Regions from separate parts of the Homo sapiens genome. Here all the other regions are linked to region 5. The links are contacts of gene promoters, found by promoter capture Hi-C in blood cells and fetal thymus (Javierre and others, 2016). All regions are on one chromosome and are shown on one strand. Each heading gives the region's core, a stretch centred on a gene start or on the middle of the fragment in contact. The rest is flanking DNA. Distances are from core to core; before and after follow the strand shown. Region 1 has its middle 23 kb from the start of LINC00964. Region 2 has its middle 41 kb from the start of LINC00964. Region 3 has its middle 4.4 kb from the start of ZNF572. Region 4 overlaps NDUFB9 (NADH:ubiquinone oxidoreductase subunit B9). Region 5 holds the start of MTSS1 (MTSS I-BAR domain containing 1). Region 6 overlaps LINC00964 (long intergenic non-protein coding RNA 964).

The links. Contacts are between HindIII fragments. The CHiCAGO score rates a contact against its expected background, and 5 or more counts as called.
Region 1: a contact is called between a fragment that was not itself captured here and the fragment with the promoter of MTSS1 in region 5, in 8 of 17 cell types (megakaryocytes, erythroblasts, total B cells and 5 more). The highest score is 19.0, in megakaryocytes.
Region 2: a contact is called between a fragment that was not itself captured here and the fragment with the promoter of MTSS1 in region 5, in 2 of 17 cell types (naive B cells and megakaryocytes). The highest score is 5.7, in naive B cells.
Region 3: a contact is called between a fragment that was not itself captured here and the fragment with the promoter of MTSS1 in region 5, in 2 of 17 cell types (total B cells and megakaryocytes). The highest score is 6.1, in total B cells.
Region 4: a fragment that was not itself captured here is called in contact with the fragment with the promoter of MTSS1 in region 5 in 2 of 17 cell types (naive B cells and total B cells); the score reaches 5.7 in naive B cells.
Region 6: a contact is called between a fragment that was not itself captured here and the fragment with the promoter of MTSS1 in region 5, in 4 of 17 cell types (naive B cells, megakaryocytes, erythroblasts and 1 more). The highest score is 5.6, in naive B cells.

Annotation. Positions count from the first base shown.
Region 1 is chr8:124,917,413-124,920,680 of GRCh38, forward strand. It overlaps the pseudogene MRS2P1. Among named protein-coding and RNA genes, the nearest start is that of LINC00964, 23 kb to the right of the region's middle. The HindIII fragment of the contact is 2,716 bases long and covers 35-2,750 here.
Region 2 is chr8:124,899,143-124,902,317 of GRCh38, forward strand. No RefSeq gene overlaps it. Among named protein-coding and RNA genes, the nearest start is that of LINC00964, 41 kb to the right of the region's middle. The HindIII fragment of the contact is 1,891 bases long and covers 710-2,600 here.
Region 3 is chr8:124,967,181-124,970,675 of GRCh38, forward strand. No RefSeq gene overlaps it. Among named protein-coding and RNA genes, the nearest start is that of ZNF572, 4.4 kb to the right of the region's middle. The HindIII fragment of the contact is 2,392 bases long and covers 779-3,170 here.
Region 4 is chr8:124,540,378-124,543,860 of GRCh38, forward strand. NDUFB9 (NADH:ubiquinone oxidoreductase subunit B9) reads left to right here. Exons shown (of 4, transcript NM_005005.3): 2 at 2,710-2,902. Among named protein-coding and RNA genes, the nearest start is that of NDUFB9, 3.0 kb to the left of the region's middle. The HindIII fragment of the contact is 4,221 bases long and covers 1-3,483 here.
Region 5 is chr8:124,727,198-124,730,846 of GRCh38, forward strand. It overlaps MTSS1 (MTSS I-BAR domain containing 1), which reads right to left and starts at 1,276. Exons shown (of 14, transcript NM_014751.6): 1 at 687-1,276. The coding sequence starts at 758. It overlaps LOC105375741 (a long non-coding RNA gene), which reads left to right and starts at 1,342. Exons shown (of 3, transcript XR_002956670.2): 1 at 1,342-2,869. The HindIII fragment of the contact is 14,334 bases long and covers 1-3,649 here.
Region 6 is chr8:124,949,010-124,952,429 of GRCh38, forward strand. LINC00964 (long intergenic non-protein coding RNA 964) reads left to right here. Exons shown (of 4, transcript NR_027321.1): 4 at 1,807-2,086. Among named protein-coding and RNA genes, the nearest start is that of LINC00964, 8.7 kb to the left of the region's middle. The HindIII fragment of the contact is 6,113 bases long and covers 1-3,420 here.

The DNA.
Region 1 (3,268 bases), core at 143-2,642, 190 kb after region 5:
TACAGGTGTGAGCCACCACACCAGGCCAGGCACAAGCTTTTAACAAGACACTTGAAAACTTTTTCTCTAATTCTTCTATATCATCCCTTCACTGAGGCACAGGGGCAACTTGTTCAGTTATCTGAACAAGGAAGGAGTCACAGGTAGCCAGAAGCATGAGTGGGTGCTTGGGGGAAATTTTGGTTAAGAGTTCAAAGATTAACTGCATTACACTGTCATGTCAATGTTTACTCTCATCTTACCCTGAGACTGACAGCTCTTTGCAAGCTGAAACTGTGCACTAGTGCTATTGTCTTTACATGCAAGACCTCTTTGGGACACGTTTTTTGAAACACCACATCAATAGACCATAAATGTGAATGAACTCCCTTTGTTAGAAAATCATCATAACTTCATTAGCCTCTCAGGGTTCAAAGTTAAAAAAAAAAAAAAGAAAGAAAATGATCGTAACTTCCATTTGTAAGCACTTTACAGATTTGTCTTCATGACTTTATTTAATCCTCCAAACAATCCTGCTAAGGAAGGCTAGGCATTACTATTTCTTACTTTATGCAGGGCCGAGGCTGAGATCAAGGTCTGCTTGCTTCATAGCCCATGTCCTTTCCATTAGGAGGAAGAACAGGAAAAGGAGGTGGGAAGGGTATGTTACCATAATCAGAATCCTGGATTCCCTGATAGCATCTTCGGCCAAACTTGGAAGTGAAGTCCCTTATTTCAGGGTCACATGGAAGCCTAGGGTGGGTGAATAATCTGAGAAAGAATGCTAATGCTGGATAATGCCTCACTTGGTCACAGTGGCTAATAGGAGACTTCACTGCTTTAGCAAAGAGTTCTCCAACATTTTTGTCCCCTCCCATTCTTGAAAATTACTGAGGCTCTAAAAGAGCTTTTGTTTATACGGGTTGTACCTATCAATCTTTGCAGTAGTAGAAATTAGAATGGAGGAAATTTTTTCAACTTTTATTTTACGGAGTACATATGCATGTTTCTTACATAGGTATATTGCATGATGTACCTATGCATGATGCTGAGGTTTGGAGTACAAATGAATTCGTCACCCAGGTAGTGAGCATTGTACCCAATAAGTAGCTTTTTTCAACCCTTACTGCCTCCCTCTCTGTCTCGCCTTGAATTCCTCAGTGTCTGTTGTTCCCATTTTTTTTTTTTTTTTTTTTTTTTGTGAGAAGGAGTCTCGCTCTGTCATCCAGGCTAAAGTGCAGTGGCGCGATCTCAACTCACTGCAACATCTGCCTCCCAGGTTCAAGCAATTCTCTGCCTCAGCCTCCCGAGTAGCTGGGATTACAGATGCCCACCAACACACCTGGTTAATTTTTGTATTTTTCATAGAGATGGGGTTTCACCATCTTGGCCAGGCTGGTCTTGAACTCCTGACCTCGTGATCCACCCACTTTGGCCTCCCAATGTGCTGGGATTACAGGCGTGAGCCACCATGCCCAGCCTGGAAGCATACTTCTTTATGCAATAGCAAAGAATCACATTTATTAATATGACCACTGATATCCTCAGAAACATCTTTAAGTATTGGAAAGCTATCAAATGCATAGTGGCAAATAACACTTTTTTCTGAAAAATTCTAATTTTCACTTGAAAGCTCAAATGTTGTCATTGGCAACAGTCAGTGGCGTTCCTTGATGTGACAGGCTCACTTTGTTCATTTGTTAAGAAAATGCCTGCCAAATACCCAAGTCTAAATCAGTATAGTTTGTCAGCCATTATCTCAAGTAAAACTTGCATTGCATGCAAAAAAAATAGTTCAGCTTGCAACTTAAATAATTGCAGAAGTACTTTTCCTCAAGACAACCATTTTATTTTGGTATGCAGCAGAAATACTTCGTGTGGACTTCCCATTTATTAAGAAATCAGTGTGAAACTGGCTATTACCTCTCCTGTGAGTGATTGAGGGGATGAAGAATCAGTGCCACTGCCTCAATTCATGCTAAGGCAGTTTTTTTTACCTGTCTTTGCTTTGGCATCATACGTGAAAATGGAGAATTTTTGCTTATGGAGAAAAGGCAAATAATGTTTTTGCATTATTGGGGAAATAGCTTTGACCTTGAGGACCCTCTGAAAAGGTCTTAGGCATCCCTAGGGGCCCATGGATCATCCTTTGAGAACCACTGACCTCATGAAATAACTGGTGGCGGAATTCAAGATTCAGCTGGTAGAGAAGAACAGTCATTCCTCTCCATATCAGGAGATTTGTGTTCAGTCCCATCCCTTCTCTGGCCTTAGTTGTATCTTCTGTAAAAGGGGATAATAATATGTCCTCCCTACAGAGCTGTTATGAGAAGTCAGTCATGACAATGTAGTGAAAACATGTGATTGCGGATAAAGCTCTGAGGGAATCAAAGAACTAGACAATTTATTCAGGGTCTGTGAGTATTGTGGGGGAGGAAGAAACCTAAGCCTCCCATCATATTGCCAAGATGACCATCTGCTCTGCCCATGTAACTCAAGCTAGAAGAGGAAGGAGCTGCTACCCATGGTGCCCCCTCCAGGGACCAGCAGTAACCTTGAAGCCTCCTCCGTCTCCCATTCCTTTGCCCTTAGTGACTCCTCAGTTCTGCCCAGATACCCTACATTGCTTTAGTCAATTTACTCTTCTCCTTTCCAAGACAAACACAGGAGAAAATCTAGCTCCAGGGCTAGGCAAAGCATTCCTACACTTGACATGAAAAGCACAATCCATAAAAGGTGAAATTAATCAATTAGACCTCATCAAAATTAAAAGCTTTTGCTCAGCAGAGGCCCTGTTAAGATGAAAAGGCAAGCTAGTCACAGACTGGGAGAAAATATTCGCAAGTCACACATCTTACTAAGAACTTGTGTCTAGAATATATAAAAAATTCTCAAAAGTGAACAGTGAAAAACTGTTTAGAAAATAAAACATAGAAAATGAGCAAAAGAGCGCCAGGTGAGTGCTGCGGACTGAGCCGCCACAGTCCGGCATGAGGGCTTGGGGTCTGGCTACTGCCTGCTTCTAGCTGTAGTGCCATGAATGCCTGCAGAGCTTGCCCTGCCTCCTGACCCATGCAATGGGACTTCCCTGGCCTTGGATCTGACCTGTGTGGGCCCGCCGGCTCTGCGTAGCAGGTGCAATGCATGGGTTTAGAACTTCTGATGTCTCTCAAGCCACTGTAGGCAGTGTAGCCCCAGTATTTACCGCAACAAAATTTGACAAACAGGGAAATGTTACTCCTTTTGAAAGGAAGAAAACTGACTTATACCAAGAGTTAGGTCTTCAAGC
Region 2 (3,175 bases), core at 405-2,904, 170 kb after region 5:
GATCCTCACATACCATGGTGAGTACTCTCTGCACAGACCAAGGAAGGAAAAGCCGCAGGAGCTGGTGAAGTACTTCCTTGGTGGTCAAATTCTGGAGGGCTGAATGTGTGTGCACGTGAATGATCACAGACAACTCTGCTTGCAATGTTGTGTGGATGGTGACAAGTCCTACTGCTGGATGGAGTGAGTGGGTCCTCTCTGCAGTTCCATAACTACCTCATATGGCTTAGGGCGGATCCTGCCATGGGATTTCTACCAGCACGCCAATGCTAAGAGGGGCCTAATTCTCCCTTGGGGGAGTGGCCAGAGAGGAGAACACGAATAGGAAGTGTGCAAGGGACCTTCAGAGGGGGAAAGGGAGGAAACAGGTCGACCTCCGAGGGCAGGCAAGGCAAGACACCCACTGGTTTGAAGGGTTGAGATTTCCAGGGCAAGCAAGGCAAGACACCCCTCATTTGAGGGGTTGAGACTTCCAGGACAGGCACAGCAAGACACCCCTGGTTTCAGGGGTTGAGCCTTCTGCTAATTTCAGGGATTGAACCTCAAAAAGAGGTGAGAAATCCTCATTGGGGGGATTTGAACCTCAAAGAGGTGAGAAATCCCCATTGGTGGGGGATTGAACTGTTACGGGTGGGTCATTGTTCTTAGAGCTCCCAAGATGGTGGCAGGCTGCCCCAAAATGGGGGCAGCCACTCCCAAGATGGCAGCAAGCTTTTTGTTCTCTGACCTGGGGTTCTTGACCTCACGAATTACAAGGAGTGGAACCTTGGGCCGTGCGGTGAGTGTTATAGTCTATTAGAAGCCATGGGTCATGGAAGAGAACCGTGGAACCCAGCAACTTGTGTTCAGCTCGATTAGGACAAACCAGGGCACTTAGCCATGCAGGAACAATGGTTAGCCTCTAGCCCCAACAGGAGCGGCAATGGGCACCTCGCTGGATCAGAAACACAGCGGACACCCTGCCAGATCCAGAGGGGTGAAAGTCAACAGTGGGTCTGTGACGGCAGCGTTTAGCAGTGGGTGGACAGCAAGCAAAAGCTCAACTCGAGCCGGAACAAACACAGACCAGAAGAGTGTGCAGTTGCAAGATTTAATAGAGTGAAAACAGAGTTCCCATTCAATGGGAGGGGACCCAAAGGGGGTTGCCACTGCCTCTCAAATACCTGTGTTTATATCCCAATCACTGTCCCTCCCCCTGTGCTCTCAGGTGATAGATGATTGACTATTTCTTTACCTCCTGCTTTTAGCCTAATTGGTAGTTTAGTGAGCTCTCTTTACTACCTGATCGGTCAGATGTAAGCTGAGTTACAAGCCCTATATTTTAAAGGTGGGTGTGGTCACCTTCCCCAGCTAGGCTTAGGAATTCTTAGTCAGCCTAGGAAATCCAGCTAGTCCTGTCTCTCAATCCCCCCTCTCAACAGGAAAACCCAAGTGCTGTTGGGGAAGTTGGCCGATGACCGTTCTAACTGCTTCCTGCTGAATTGGGGCATAGGAGGGGTCTCGCAGTTCAGATTTCCTCAGGAGGGGTGCCTTCGATGTCATCAACATCGGAGCATGGGCTAGCAGGCCAGTCCAAGGGTCTGTGGTTGATCTTAGTCATAGACTGCATCTGGGGCTCCATTTGAAGAACAATTTGTAGTTTTACAGTTTTGATTCTGGAAGAGACAAACTTAACAAGGAGGTTAAAGATACAGGGATTGAAATGTATGGCCTGAAGTGCAGGGGCAAATGGGTGTGGGTGGTGAAAATGGGGTTTCCTTTAGAAAAACTCCTATACAGTGGGGCATCAATATTTCTGGGAAGCCATGCTCTCCATAGAAGCTCTTGGTAAGGGGAGCTACTGGTAGTACAGCAGCATGCAAGAGGTGCAGTGAGAGTGCAAGAGAGTAAGAGAACAGTAAAGAGAAATATATGACAAGGGAGGGCCATGGGCATCTGCGATTCTAGTTACTTTCCTCATGGTTGTCACTTGAAGAGCAGGTGCAGATCCTCTAGAGGTTCACAGGAATAACTAGCATTGTCTCCTGGAGTGAGGGGATTACTTTCAAGTATTCCATTATCACTGACCAGTGCATACCCCACCTTTTGAAGTCCTTTTTCTACAAAGGAACTTCCATCAGTATACAAGTTGAGGTCAGGATCAGTCAAGGGAACTTCTAGAAGGTCCCCTCAAGTGGCGTAGGTTTGAGCAATTGTTGACAGTTATGCATCTTTTCTTCATTGTCTGTAAGAAATGTGGCTGGGTTAAGAGTTGCACAAGTGCGCAGTCACAGCACTGGCCCTTCAAATAATAGAACCTGATATTTAAGCAGAAGGTTGTCTGACAGCCACAAGTCTCCTTTAGCAGTGAGTATGCCGTTCACATCATGAGATGTCCACATGTAAGATCTCTTCCCTTTATCATTTTAACTGCTTCAGATACTAATACTGCTACTGCTGCCACTACGCATAAACAGTGAGGCCAACCCTTTGCCACTACATCAATTTCCTTACTCAGGTATGCCACAGGTTGCAAGCTGGTCCCTCGGACCTCTGTAAGGACTCCTAGAGCTACTCCTGTCTTTTCTGTGACATATAAAGAAAAGTCTTGCCCATCGGCAAGCTTAACACTGGGGCTTGCGTTAGGGCCTTCTTTAGGGCCTGGAAAGCAGCTTGTGCTTCAGGTGTCCATTCTACTAAATGGGTATTGGCTTTCTGAGTTTCCTTAATTAGTGTGTGTAATGGCCCCTGCTTTTGCTAGAATGTCTCTCCCTAACACAGGAGTGGGTCTTTCAGGCAAAATTAGAAAACCATGTGAAAAGAGTAAAGTACCCTAGTCACAACTTAGTGACCGCGAGAAGTATCTAGTGACTGGCTGTCCTAGGACCCCTTGGATTTTGACAGATCTGGAGGACAGTTGTCTGGGACAGGAGAGTAAGACTCAGAAGGCCATGCCAGCGTCCAGGAGATAGTTAACCTCCTGGCCCTCAATGGTCAAGCATACCCGGAGCTCTGTGAGGGTGATGGCATGGGCTGACACTTGTGCTGGGCACCCTCAGTCCTGCTGCTGGATCATCTGGTTAGTGGCTTCTGACTCAAGAGGACCTTTGTTCCCTGGGGCAGTGGGCCTTCCAGTGATTCCCTTGACATAAGGGGCATGGACGAGGGGGCAGCTTATTTCTATTCAGACAATCTT
Region 3 (3,495 bases), core at 725-3,224, 240 kb after region 5:
GAACTCTTTTGTCCCCTTGGGGGCGATATCACCACTGTTGAGAATCGGACCCCCTTCCTCCATCTTCCAATAACAGTTTGCTCATGGCTAGAACAGATAATTAGAAGGCAAGCGTCACTCTTCTTTCATTTCCGAGCTGGACCTGTGGTGCCAGGCTCAGCCTGCTTACACACACCATATAGCCATCCTCCAGCTGGAAGTTCTGTTTGAAAGCTTGCTACTCCAGGGAACGCACAAACTTTGTCCGTGTGCCCTCAACCCCAAACTAGAGCCTCCCCAGCAGTTTAGCTGTGTACTAACTAGAGTCAGTTACAGAGAATAGAATTCACTTGAGCTGACATAAGGAATAATAGATATATTACAAGGATTAAAGGACTTTTGGAATCTCTGGGAGGACTGAGGAAATGGACTGTGGGCTGAGCTTCCAGGAGTGTCAATCAAAGGTGCTGCTACAACTATGGCAATTACAGCTTCAAAGAAGTCTTGGAAATGTAATGTTTAGCTTTTTCAACTGTATTAGTCTGTTTAGGCTATCATAGCAAAATACTAGACTGAGTGGCTTAAACAGCAGAAATTCATTTTCTCACAGTTCTGGGGTTTTTTGGTTTTTGCTTCTTTTGTTTTGTTTTGTTTTTTGACAGGGTCTCACTGTGTCATCCAGGCTGAAGTGCAGTAGTGCAATCATGGTTCACTGGAGCCTTGAACTCCTGGGCTCAAGCAATCCTCCCGCCTCAGCCTCCTGAGTAGCTGGGACTATAGGCATGTGCCACCAATGCAAAGCTTTTTTTTTCTTTTTTTTTAAAAATTGTTTGTACAGATGGAGTCTCACTGTTGTCCAGACTGGTCTCAAACTCCTTGGCTCAAGTGGTCCTCGTGTCTCAGAGGTACTGGGATTACAGGTGTAAGTCACCATGCATGGCCTCATTTTCGCACACTTCTGGAAGGTAGAAGTCCATGATCAAGGTACTGTCAGTGTTAGTTTCCATGAGGCCTGTCTTCCTGGTTTGCAGATGGCCACCTTCTTGCTATGTTCTCCCCTGGCCTTTCCTTTGTGTGTACACAGACAGAGATGTCTCCGGTGTCTCTTCCTCTTCTTACAAGGACCCCAGTCCTATCAGATTAGAGCCCCACCATTATGACCTCACTTAACCTCAAACACCTCCCTTGAGGCCCTATCTCCAAATACAGCCACACTGGGGATTACAGGTTCAACATAAGAATTTTGGGTGAAGGCCGGGTGTGGTGGCTCACGCCTGTAATCCCTGCACTTTGGGAGACTGAGGTGGGCAGACTATTTGAGGCCAGGAGTTCGAGACCAGCCTGACCAACATGGTGAAACCCCATCTCTACTAAAAATACAAAAATTAGCCAGTTGTGGTGGTATGCACCTGTAATCCTAGCTACTTGGGAGGCTGAGGCAGGAGAATTGCTTGAACCCAGGAGGCAGAGGCTTCAGTGAGCCAAGATGGTGCCATTCTACTCCAGCCTGAGGGGACAGAGAGCGAGACTCCATCTCAAAAACAAAAAACAAACAAAAAAAAGAATTTCTGGTGGACACAGTTCAGTTCATAACACCAACTCTTCTCTGCAGGAACGCATAATGAAAGAAAGTGGTAATGGTTATTGAGCAAACCAATATACAATATCCACCACAGCTTTAAAAAAATAAAGGTTAAATTATTCATTTCAACATAAGTAATAGTATAAGTTCAGAAGCAATATAAAAAACAGGTTAAATAAATACTGTTATATTTACCCAATGGAATATCATGCAACTGTTAAAAAAAAGAATACTGGGAGCTCTATGATAAATGTCTGTACTATTATAAAAAACTCTCGGTTGGGTGCAGTGGCTCATGACTGTAATCCCAGCACTTTGGGAGGCTGAAGCAGGTGGATTGCTTGAGCCCAGGAGTTGGAGATCAGCCTGGGCAACATAGTAAGACCCTGTCTCTACAAAAAACGAAGCAAAACAAAACAAAAACAACAAAAAAACCAAAACCCAAAATTAGCTTGGAGCTGAGAGTGGTAGCACACACCTGTGGTCCCACATACTTGGGAGGCTGAGGTGGGAGGATTGCTTGAGCCCTGGAGGTTGAGGTTGCAGTGAGCTGAGATCATGCCACTGGACTCTAGCTTGGGGGACAGAGTGAGATCCTGCCTCAGAAATTAAAAAAAAAAAAGAGAGAAGAAAAGAAAACTCTCCATGTTGTTAAGTGAAAAAACTAAAATTTAGAACAAAGTGAATAGTTTACTATATGTGTAGCAAAAGAAATGTATGAATATATGTCATCTATCTTTATTCATTACCTATATATGTGTATATATACATATGTATATAAGCAGGTAGGTAGGTATTTGCTCACATATGGCATTATCTGTGAATAATACACAAGAAACATACAACGTTGGTTGCCCCAGTGGTGAGAAGAACTGGATAGCTGGGGGCAGGGATGAGAGAGGACATTTCATTTTATGTATGTATTTTGGAGGTTTTTGTTCATTTGCTTGTTTGTTGAGAAAGCAGATTCTGAGACTGAGTTTAGTGTCCAGGGTGTTGATTAGGAAATGGCCTTGGTATCCAAACCTGTGGAAGGGTGAGAAAGGAATCAGGATTGAGCAGAGGGGGAAGACCTACAATTTGGGCCTGACAACACATTCCTCCATCAAGGCCATCAAGAACTCAGGAGTTGGCTGGGCACTGTGGCTCACACCTGTAATCCCAACACTTTGGGAGGCAAAGGCAGGAGGATTGCTTGAGCCCAGGGGTTCACATCAGCCTGGGAAACAAAGTGAGACCCCCCTCTCTACAAAAAAAATTAAAAAATTAGCAAGGCATTGTGGCACGTGACTTTAGTCCCAGTTACTTAAGAGGCTGAGATGGGAGGATTGCTAGAACCTGGGCAGTCGAGGCTGCAGTAAGCCGTGATTGTGCCACTGCATTCCAGCCTGGGTGACAGAGTAAGACTGTCTTAAAAAACAAACAAACAAACAACACTCAGGAGCTGAAATAGTGCATTTAAGAGTTATCCTGCTTTGGACAACATGGACAGCCTTTTATATTTCTGCCTTGATCAGTCCCCAGACGTGGGCTGCCTTGGAAAGGGCATGAGCTCCAGAAAGGCTATTCTCTGAAACTGAAGCACTCCCTGAGGGAGCTAACAGCTGAAAGCTTTCTGTTCACAGCACTCTCAAAGGTGGGCAACATGTACTTCCTTGGATTCTGAGTGATTCATCTCTGTGTCTGTCACTTACGGCCTATATGATTATGATCTAACCTCTTGAAACTTCTCTGACCTTACCTCCAAGTACTGTTCACTTCACTTGCTCTGCTCCTTATTGTTTCTTGAGTTTCCATCTCAGAGTCCTTTTTCTTACTGTTCCTGTCTTAATTGTTCCTCCCTTAAATAACAATGAGGCCCACGACTTTCTTCCTTCATACTTCTGCTGAAATATCTGCCTACTGAGAGGACTTCCCTGATCACCTTACCTGAA
Region 4 (3,483 bases), core at 200-2,699, 190 kb before region 5:
GGAAAATGGACATGTAAACAAATCGATGATGAAGGAAGTTGAGCCATCAGGGATTCAGGTATCCCAACACAAATGGTAAATGTTTGAGGTGATGAATATCCAAATTACCCTGATTTGATCATTATACATTATATGGATGTATTAAAATATCACATGTACCCCATAAATAGGTACAATAATTATGTGTCAAAAAAAGTTAAACATGAAAAAAAGAATTCAAGCAATACTGAACTATAGCTGGGAATACTAAAGTCCATAGTTCTAGAGGAAAATGATATAAACTAGCTACTATGACAGTTATGGCTCAGCATTTTTTAGATCTGACATTCTTTCTCAATCCTTGCCTTAATTTCTTCCTCCATTTGCCCTCATTGTGCTGTTCTCTGTGGTTCCATCCTAGGCATACTGTGTTGTTGTATGTACTCGGGCAGCCTCATTTAGTGCTGTCACCACCTGCGCTCATTTGTCTCTAGAGCTGTAGTTCGAATTGCTTGTTAGATCACGACTGTTGGCTGGGCATGATGGCTCACGCCTATAATCCCAGTACTTTGGGAGGCTGAGGTGAGTGGATCACCTGAGGCCAGGAGTTCAACAGCCTGGCCTACATGTGAAACCGCGTCTCTACTAAAAATACAAAAATTAGCCAGGCGTGGTGGTGGGTGCCTGTAATCCCAGCTACTCATGAGGCTGAGGCAGAAGAACCGCTTGAACCTGGGAGGCAGAGGCTGCAGTGAGCCGAGATAGCCCCATTGCACTCCAGCCTGGGCGACAAGAGTGAAACTTTGTCTCAAAAAATAATAATAAAAAAAAAATTGAAAAGATCACCAACCGTTCTCTCAATCTCCATTTATCTAAATTCTTTGAAATCAAACTTGTTTTCCTGTCACTCCCCATTCTGACTCTTTTCCCAAATTCCCTGCCTCCGCTAATGGTATTATTAGTAATTCAGTTACTGAGCTTTAAGTCTCAGAATTGTTCTCAAGTATTTGCTCCTTATTCCTTTGCCAATAACACACATACTCATACACCATGTATAATTAGACACTGGTTTTTATAAATTCTCTTTCCAGTATGATATTAGTAACTGACATTATTTAACACTTGGGATGTACCAGGCACTTTTTAAAGTGTGTTTATCTTATTGACTGTTTATGACAACCTTAAGATATACACACTGTTATTGCCACTGTTTTACAGAGGAGGAACCCGTGGCCTAGAAGACTTTTTTTGTTTGTTTTTTTGTTAGACGGAGTTTCGCTTATGTTGCCCAGGCTGGAGTGCAGTGGCGCGATCTTGGCTCACCGCAAGTTCCGTCTCCCGGGTTCAAGCAATTCTCCTGCCTCAGTCTCCCGAGTAGCTGGGATTACAGGCATGCGCCACCACGCCTGGCTAATTTTTGTATTTTTAGTAGAGACGGGGTTTTGCCATGTTGGCCAGGCTGGTCTTGAACTCCTGACCTCAGGTGACCTCCACCTCAGCCTCCCAAAGTGCTGGGATTACAGGCGTGAGCCACCGTGCCTGGCCTTTTTGTTGTTGTTGTTGTTGTTTTTTTTTGAGATGAAGTCTCGCTCTTGTCCCCCAGGCTGGAGTGCAAATGGCACAATCTCGACTCACTGCAACCTCTGCCTCCCGGGTTCAAGCTATTCTCCTGCCTTGGCCCCCAGAGTAGCTGGGATTACAGGTGCCTGCCACCACGCCCGGCTAGTTTTTGTATTTTTAGCTGAGACGGGATTTCACCATGTTGGCCAGGCTGGTGTAGAACTCCTCACCTCAGATGATCCCCCTGCCTTGGCCTCCCAAAGTGCTGGGATTACAGGCGTGAGCCACCATGCCCGGCCTCATTTTTGTATTTTTAGTAGAGACGGGGTTTCTCCATGTTGATCAGGCTTGTCTTGAACTCCAGACCTCAGGTGATCCACACGCCTTGGCCTCCCAACGTGCTGGGATTACAGGTGTGAGCCACCGCACCTGACCAGAAGACAGTAACTTACCCCAAGTTACACAGCTAGTAGTGGCAGAGCTAAGATTCAGGCCCATACAGTCTGACTGGAGAGCCTATTCTCATAACTTGGAAGTCTCAATGTCTCCCCTGTCTCCTGTCACCATCACAGCTCCGTACTTTCAGGCCCTCGTCAGCTGTGTCCTAGATTATTGTCAAAACCTCCTAACTGATCTTTGCCCAGTTTCTTTAGAACTTGACTTTAACTTGCCTAAGTTTATGCAGCTAGTGTCAGAGTCAGGATACAAACCTAGCTCTGTATGAGCTAAGCAATACTGTTTCTGCCAAGTAACACCTTTCTTATTCATCTTTGTATCTCCAGAATTTAGCATAGTGACTAGCACAAGATAGAAGGAAATGGAAGTTGTCATTCAATGAATGTTGAATGATCCTGCAGAGGTTATAGCTTTTCTCTTGCGAATGCTCTTTTCTTTTTTTTTTTTTTTTTTTTTGTTTAAATCCTCATTCCATTGTTGGATGTAAGAGGAGAAAAATGGTTAGGGTATATATTTAATACAGTATTTTTTTGCTGCTGCTGTTTGGTGGGCTGTAGAGGAAGCAGCCATGATGATACGGCTGCTCCATTGGGAGGGTTGGGGTAGGTCCACTGCCCATCCAGAAGGTATCAGAAGTGCAGCCTCCTGTCAGACAGCAACACTGACCACGTGAGTAGGTAACATTTCTAATCTTCAAAATCATTTTGGTTTAAGAGACAAATACCGATACTTTGCTTGTTTGATGAGAGCCCGGTTTGAAGAACATAAGAATGAAAAGGATATGGCGAAGGCCACCCAGCTGCTGAAGGAGGCCGAGGAAGAATTCTGGTACCGTCAGCATCCACAGCCATACATCTTCCCTGACTCTCCTGGGGGCACCTCCTATGAGAGATACGATTGCTACAAGGTAGGTGAGAATTATGATGACTGCCTTCTGAGAAATAGACTTTGTTTCTTCAGTCCCACACCTCAGCCTCAGAAATCACTTGCCCTTCAAGGGGTAGCTAGGAGACTTATTTCCTGACAGTTGTCAGATGCAGGCCTACCTCATTTTATTGCATTTTGTTTTATTGTGCTTGGCAGATATTGTATTTTCACAGATTGAAAGTTTGTGGCAACCCCGTGCTGAGCAAGTCTGTGGGCACCATTTTTCCAACAGCATGTGCTCACTCCCTGTCTCTGTTTCTCAGTTTGGCAATTCTTGCAATATTTCAAACTTTTTTTTATTATTACTCTATCTACACACAGTTGTGGTGAACTGTGATCAGTCACCTTTGATGTTACTATTGTCATTGTTTTGGGGCACAAAAAAACCATGCCCACATAAGACAGCAGACTTAATCGATAAATGTGCGTGTGCTGACTGTTTCACCGACCAATAGTTCCTCCGCCTCTATCCCTCTCCTCAGGGTTCCCTATTCCCTAAGACGCAGCAACAGTGAAATTAGGACAATTAACGACCATACCATAGCCTCTAAGTGTTCAAGT
Region 5 (3,649 bases), core at 26-2,525:
TTATTTCGGGGGCCCCAATCTTGCCTTTAGGCTCAGCTGGGAGAAGGCGGGGCCCCTGCAAGGCTGCCCGGGAACTTCGGCCCCGCGCCCCGCGGGAGGGCTAAGAGAGGGCACGCACACCTTTACCAGCTTCGGAACGGCCCAATTAATAACTAATTTGCTCAGATACCCCACTCCAAGTAGACCTGACAGCCAAGGAGGGACTGGCTTTCCCTCTCAGTCTCCTAGGCTAGGGGACTCCTTCCTGCGAGCGGGCAGAGCCCCCACTTCCTCCCCACCACCGCGCCAGGCGCCCCCACCCCGTGCCCGGAGGAATCAGGTGTCCTCCCGGGCATCCAGCCCCCGCGGGTCCCAGACACTTACTTCAGGGACAGACAATGGGAAAACTTGCAGCCAGTGCCTTGAGCCCCCGAGGGAAAGAAATGGTGCCGCCCCCTGGGACAATGAGCGGGGGAGATGGCGTGGGACAGCAGACACCCCCCAGAGAAGCCACCCGCCCAGTGACCCCGCAGAGCCCGGAGCAGCGCCCCGGGTGAGCAGGTGACACTCCGGCCGGGAGCTCCCGCAGGTGGCCGGTGGCCACACTGCAGGGAAGGGCCGGGTGCCCGGCCCGGGGTGGAGGCGAAGCGCGGCGGCGAGGTCAGAGCGCGGCGGCCGGCGCCGCAGCCGCACCCCCGGCGTCCTACCTTCATGTCGCTGATGATGGTCTGGAAGAGGCCTCCGAGCGCGCTGCATTCCTTCTCAATCACAGCCTCCATTTTCCCGGCTCCGGCAGGGCGAGGGCACACACGCGGGGCCGCTGGACTGCGCGCGGGGCCGGGGCTCGCTCACCCCAGAAGGAATTTCACCTTCCGAGAGACCCACCTCGGACTCGCAGCCTCTTCTGCAGCGAGGACGGGGTGCACCAGACCGACTGTTCTCTGCCCAAAATAATAACAGTAATTTAAAAAGCCAAACCGCTCTGTAGGGTATTCGCCTACAAGCAGCGCTCGGCTCCTGGCCTTAAAAATGCCGGGAGAAGACTGACAATCAGGCCACCACTGGTGCCCACTACGGAAACGGCAAAGCCCATCTTGATGCAGAGAAAATCGCCCGCTGACCCGGGGCCAGCGCCATTGAAAAACGCAAGATTTTCCAATTTAATAAATTTTTCTGCAATTAAAAAAAAATCGCCCAACAGCAGAGCGGGTCAGCTCGCGGCGTCCGGATCTGTTGCTCGCAGCTGCGGCCGCCGCCTCCTTTTCACTCCTGCGCGCCCGGCCCCGGCGCTCGCTCTGGCTGGGCTCCCGGGGACGTTCGGAGGGGCGCACGCGCGCTCGCGGCCGTGCCCGCCAAGCGGAGGCGCGCTCTCGCGGCCGTGCGGCCGCCGCACGCGGGCGGGGCTGGGAGCGCGCGCCCGAGAGGCGCGTGGGGCACCCGCCGCAAAGAGGAGCCTGCTGGTCTGCTGGCGGGCAGGCGGCGCTGGGCCGGAGCCTCTCCCTCCGGTGCGCACAGCGCACCCTCTCCTCCCCCGGCCGCCCGTCGCAGCGCGGAGAGGGCGTGTCGGCACCCTGCCTGGCGAGCGCCCACCCCTACAATGGCTGCGAGCGCGCGGGACGGAGGGTGCACCGCCGCTCCCCGGGGACTTGCACGGGTGGCGCGCCTAGCCCAGAGCCCGCTTGTAGTGAGCGCTCAGTAGGGCGGGAAAGCTGCTGCCGCTACTGCGGCCTTCTGAGAAGACGCCCATTCTCTGATGTCAGGACTGCATCGCCGAGTCCTGATTGCAAATAGCGAAATATATAATTAAGGAGAGTTCGGGGGCGTATCCTGCAATGGGATGCCGAGTTCGATAAAGTTGCAGGATGCTGGGAAAGTGGATTGATTTGCTGTTGCTAAATGAATGGAAACAGCGTTAGAGCTTCTGTCCACGATCCATCAGTCTATCGAGATTGCTGATTGCCTATGACTTGGACGGTTGATGGTTTTCAGGCCCACTGAGAGCAGCCAGCGTTGGTATAACCGCAGGGAGCCCTCCTGGGAGGTTGAACCTGCAGAGCGCAAATGTGCCCAGGTTGATTTGGGGCCTAGTGGTCCATTTTCACAGCTCCACTGCCTATCTGCATAACCAGGAGCCCTCATTCAGATGAACGCCAAATGGGCCAGAGGGAGGAGAATCAAATGAGCAACTTTTAAAAGATATTAAGACATAGGCACCTAACTCCGGACAGTTCCTTTAACCCTTGAGCTAACCATTTGAAGCACAAAACATAACAAAAGAAAAGACTGGGGGGAGTGGGGCCAAAAGAAACCAAGTGCAAAATTCTGTACACTTGTGTCAGATTCACTCCGTAATGGGAAAAGGTCTGGCTTTGAAAACTTTATGGATCAAAGGGATGCATGGAGTTACACAGCACAGCTGCAGAAGATAATGTTCCCCTGGATCACTCTGCCCAACTCTTAACTGCAACCCACCTTCCCCATCCGTCTCCCCGAAATCACCCGGAAGGGTGTTACCTTCAGGAAGTAACTGATCTCTTGATCACCCCTGCTGGATCCTGTCCCCAAGGGCGTTCGAATGCATCCGACTCATCTTCACCTTGCCAATAACGGGTGCTTGACACATCGTTTGCTGCCAATCATTATTGTGATTTTAATACTATTGGTATTCTAACTATCAAGATGACTGCTTGTAGAGCCAGATTGCCTGGATTCAAACTCCAGTTCACAACCTACTAACTGTATGCCTTTAGGTATGTTACTTAACCTTTCTGGGCCTCAGTTTCCTCATCCATCTGTAAATGGGGATAATGATGGCTTCTACCTGATAGGGCTGTTCTGAACATTACATGAGCTGATCGATGAAAGCACTTCAAGTGGTACCTGGCATCTCGTAAGTAATCATTCGATAAATCTTATCAACAGAAGAAGCAGGGATGAGGCCAAGGCTCAGGTCCAGCCCTGGCCCCATTTCACTTCTGTAACATTGGTGTGCTGTCCCAGGCACATTGCTGAGGGTCTACTGTGTGCATTCTGGGCATTTTATACGTATTATGTCTACTTGAAGGAAATTATCATTCTGGTCCTTGTTGCACTGTTGGAAGGAATCCAACCCTGGTTTTCTGACTTCCATGCCCCAGGTCTCTCTTTTACCCAGCCTCCTGAACTCCTGGGATAAGGGGCCTTAGCCCAGTGGACACTTGGTCTAGCTTTCCTGCCACATGCTTAAATTTCAATGCCCCAAATACCCCAACTTTAGCAATGTTTGCCAAAGCATACCTCTCTTGTGGCCTTTTTCCCTGGGCCTGACCACCAGGCCCTTGTCTCTCATGAGAACTCCTTGAAAGGGAGGCTGGAAAAGTGTTCCCAGATGCAGGAAAGTGGGAGTGACACCTGGCAATTTTTTTTTTTTTTTTTTTTTTTTGAGACAGGGCCTCACTCTGTCACCCAGGCTGGAGAGCAGTAGCGCGATCTCGGCTCACTGCAACCTCCACCTCTCAGGTTCAAGCGATTCTCCTGCCTCAGCCTCCATGTTGGTCAGGCTGGTCTCGAACTCCTGACCTCAGATGATCTACCCGCCTCGGCCTCCCAAAGTACTGGGATTACAGGCGTGAGCCATTGTGCCTGGCCAGCTGTCATACATTCTTTCCTTGTTTTCAGATTCTCCTTTGTT
Region 6 (3,420 bases), core at 19-2,518, 220 kb after region 5:
TGGCCTACAAAGTTGTCTATGCCTGCATCAGTGGAATCTATGAACATGGAATCTTGCATGGGAAAAGGGAATTTGCAGATTTGATTAGAGACCCCAAAATAGAAAGATTATCTTGGATTATGTAATAGCTAAAATTGAGTGTCAACTTGATTGGATTGAAGGATGCAAAGTATTGTTCCTGGGTGTATCTGTAAAGGTGTTGCCAAAGGAGGTTAACATTTAAGTCAGTGGACTGGGAGAGGCAGACCTACCCTCAATATGGATGGGCACGATCTAAGCAGATGCCCCCATGGCTAGGATAAAGCAGGCAGAAGAGCCTGGAAGGACTAGACTGGCTGGGTCTTCCAGCCTTCCTGTTTCTCCCTTGCTGGATGCTTCCTGCCCTCGAACATTAGACTCCAAGTTCTTCAGCTTTTGGACTCTTGGGCTTACACCAGTGGTTTGCCAGGGCCTCTCAGGCCTTCTGCCACAGACTGAAGGCTGCACTGTTGGCTTCCCTACTTTTGAGGTTTTGAGACTCAAACTGACTTCCTTGCTTGCTACTCAGCTTGCAGACAGCCTATTGTGGGACTTCAACTTGGCATTGTGTGAGTCAATACTCCTAATAAACTCCCTTTTATATATACATCTATCCTTTTAGTCCTGTTCCTCCAGAGAACACTGACTAATACAGATTATCTAGACAGGCCCAGTGTAATCACATGAGTCCTTAAAAATAGAAATCCTTCCTGACTACAGAGAACCAGAGAGATGGAAGCATGAGAAGGACTCAACCTGTGTTGTTGGCTTCCAAATGGAGGAAGGGATCCAGGAGACAAGGAATGTGAGTGGCCTCTAGAAGACAGAAAAGGCAATAAAATGGATTCACCCTTAGAGCCTCCAGGAAGCAATGCCACCCTGTCAACACCTTGATTTTTAGCCCAGTGAGTCCTGTGTCAGACTCCTGACATAAAGAACTGTTAGATAATGCATTTATGTTGTTTTAAGCCACTAAAATGTGATTTGTCTCAGCAGCAATAGAAAACTACCGTAATCCCTTTGAATAAAATAGGAAGGTGTACGTCCATAAAGATAGAAATAAATGAATAAATTGAAAGTTTGATGAGGAACAGGATATCTATTTCAAAATAACTCTGCACAAAACACTTATTAATTACAAAGGGTTAAAGAGCAATTTGGAAGTTATTCCTAGTTCTCTGCTAGGAGGAGCCTAGTGGATACCACCCTAATCAAGTGATCTAACTGAATATCAACAGCAGTGAGACAGATGTAAATTATGCCTCAGCCAATAGTATCAGTGAGAAGAATACAACACTTCTGTGGTATTTCTACCCAAGATACATAACTTAAGGAAACATCAGAGACATTGTAAGAAACTCAGATTGAGGGACATTCTATGTAATAACTGGTCAGCTATCATCAAAGTTGCCAAGGTCATTTAAGTTAAGGGAAGACAAAGGAACTTTTCCAAGCTAAAGAACACCAAAAAGACTTGACAATTAAATGCAATGTGTGGTTTTGAACTGGATTACTTTGTTGGAATCACTGGCAAAACTTGAATGGGTTCTGAGGATTAGACTGCAGTTAGTATCAATGTTAATTTCCTGATTTTAATGGTTATATTTTGGTTATGTAGAAAAATTTTTGAAAAGTCATACTAACAAAAGATAAATAATTATGGTAGCTTGTCTCCAAGATGGCTGACCAGCATAAATTTCTTCTCCCTATATCCACACAAGCCAGGGTTGCAGTTTATTCCTTTGTTCCCTTGAATGTGGCCTGATTTGTGACTGCTTTGGTCAACAGAATACTACTAAAGTCATGCCGTGTGACTTCTGAAGCTAGCTCCTAAGAAGTCCTTGCAGCTTCTGCCTGCGACTCTTAGAACACTTGCTTTGAAGGATGCCAGATGCTGTCTTAAAAGTCTGAGCACTCTGAAACCATCATGCTGTGAGGAAGCCCAAGCTAACCACATGGGCAAAAAAGATGCCCTCTGACTGCCACCATTTGAGACACTCTAATTAAGAACTGCCTCATTGAGCCCATGAGGCCCTGTGAATGATAATAATAAATTGTTTTTAACCACTATGTTTTTGGATTTGTTATAAGTTTATAGATAACAAGAAAAAGTTATATTAGCATGGTAATAAAATTATGGATATGTGTAAGTTTGGTGTTTTGTTTCTTTTTTTTTTTTACACTAAGCCTATATTACTGTTGTAATTTAGGAAATCACTTGTTTTCCTCCAGCACTTCAATGTAAGAGTGGCACTACTTAGAATGTACTTCTTAAGATATGGCTGTACATAGAACAAATTATTCACCATGATTTCCTTAGCATCCAACAGAATACCTGAGTGTAGTAGATGCTTAGTAAATAGTTGTTGAATAATTGACATATGGGAGAGTGCTGGATAAACTCTTTGAGAATGACATTATCTACTTCGATTTATGTGAGTCTGGCATCATATTTTTTTTGCTGTCTTTAAAGAAACCAAGAAGAAAGGCTGTGTGTTGAAGTTATGATTTATTGCTTTTCTCCCCTATACATTTATTTCTTCACATGATCATCTCCTCTGCTTTCTTCTGTGACTAACTTGCTCTATCTGTGTGAACATTTTGCCACTATTCTGCTCCCTTTATACCTGCCTAGGCAAAGATTGCACAAAAAATAAAATGATAAACAAAGCTCTGTTGCAAATAAAACTTAGATGACACGCCAACATCTCACATCAGTCAATATGTGAAAAGAATAATATCCATGGACAAGTAGGGCTAATTTCAAGAATACAAGAATAACCCTGGGGAATTAGTTAATATAAGTAAATCATGTTTCATATATCAAAAAAATATGATCATCTTGGCTTTTAAAACGTTCTTAGGAAACAAGATCTTGAGGAATACTTTATTAACATGATAAAGAAGATTTACATTAAATGAGCATTTATTGAGACATGGCATATACAAGATAATGTTGAATTTTAGGAATTAAAATATTAAGTAAGGCAAGTCACTGTTCTCAAGAACTTAAAATATAAAATATTAATCACAGAACCTTACCAGCCTCTTTTTCTGCAGTGGATCTAGAATGTCACAATTGGAAATTAATGCAAAGGAAATGTTTCAAATTAAGACATTTGCATAATGATCATTGCAGTGCTATGTTCAATAGCAAAGTATCTTGACCTTAATACCTGACAACAAGGGGCTAGTTATGTAAATTATTTCATATTAACTCAATGGAATATTATACGCTCATTAAGTTTCATTCGGTATGCATGATATACAACCTAAGACACAGATTAAATTAGTTCAAAGGCAACGTAGGAATATTGAACACTGTATATTAAGTAAAATTAGTTCTTAAAAGTGTTAATACAATACAGAGTTTCTGAATGTCAGCACTACTGGCATTTTGGA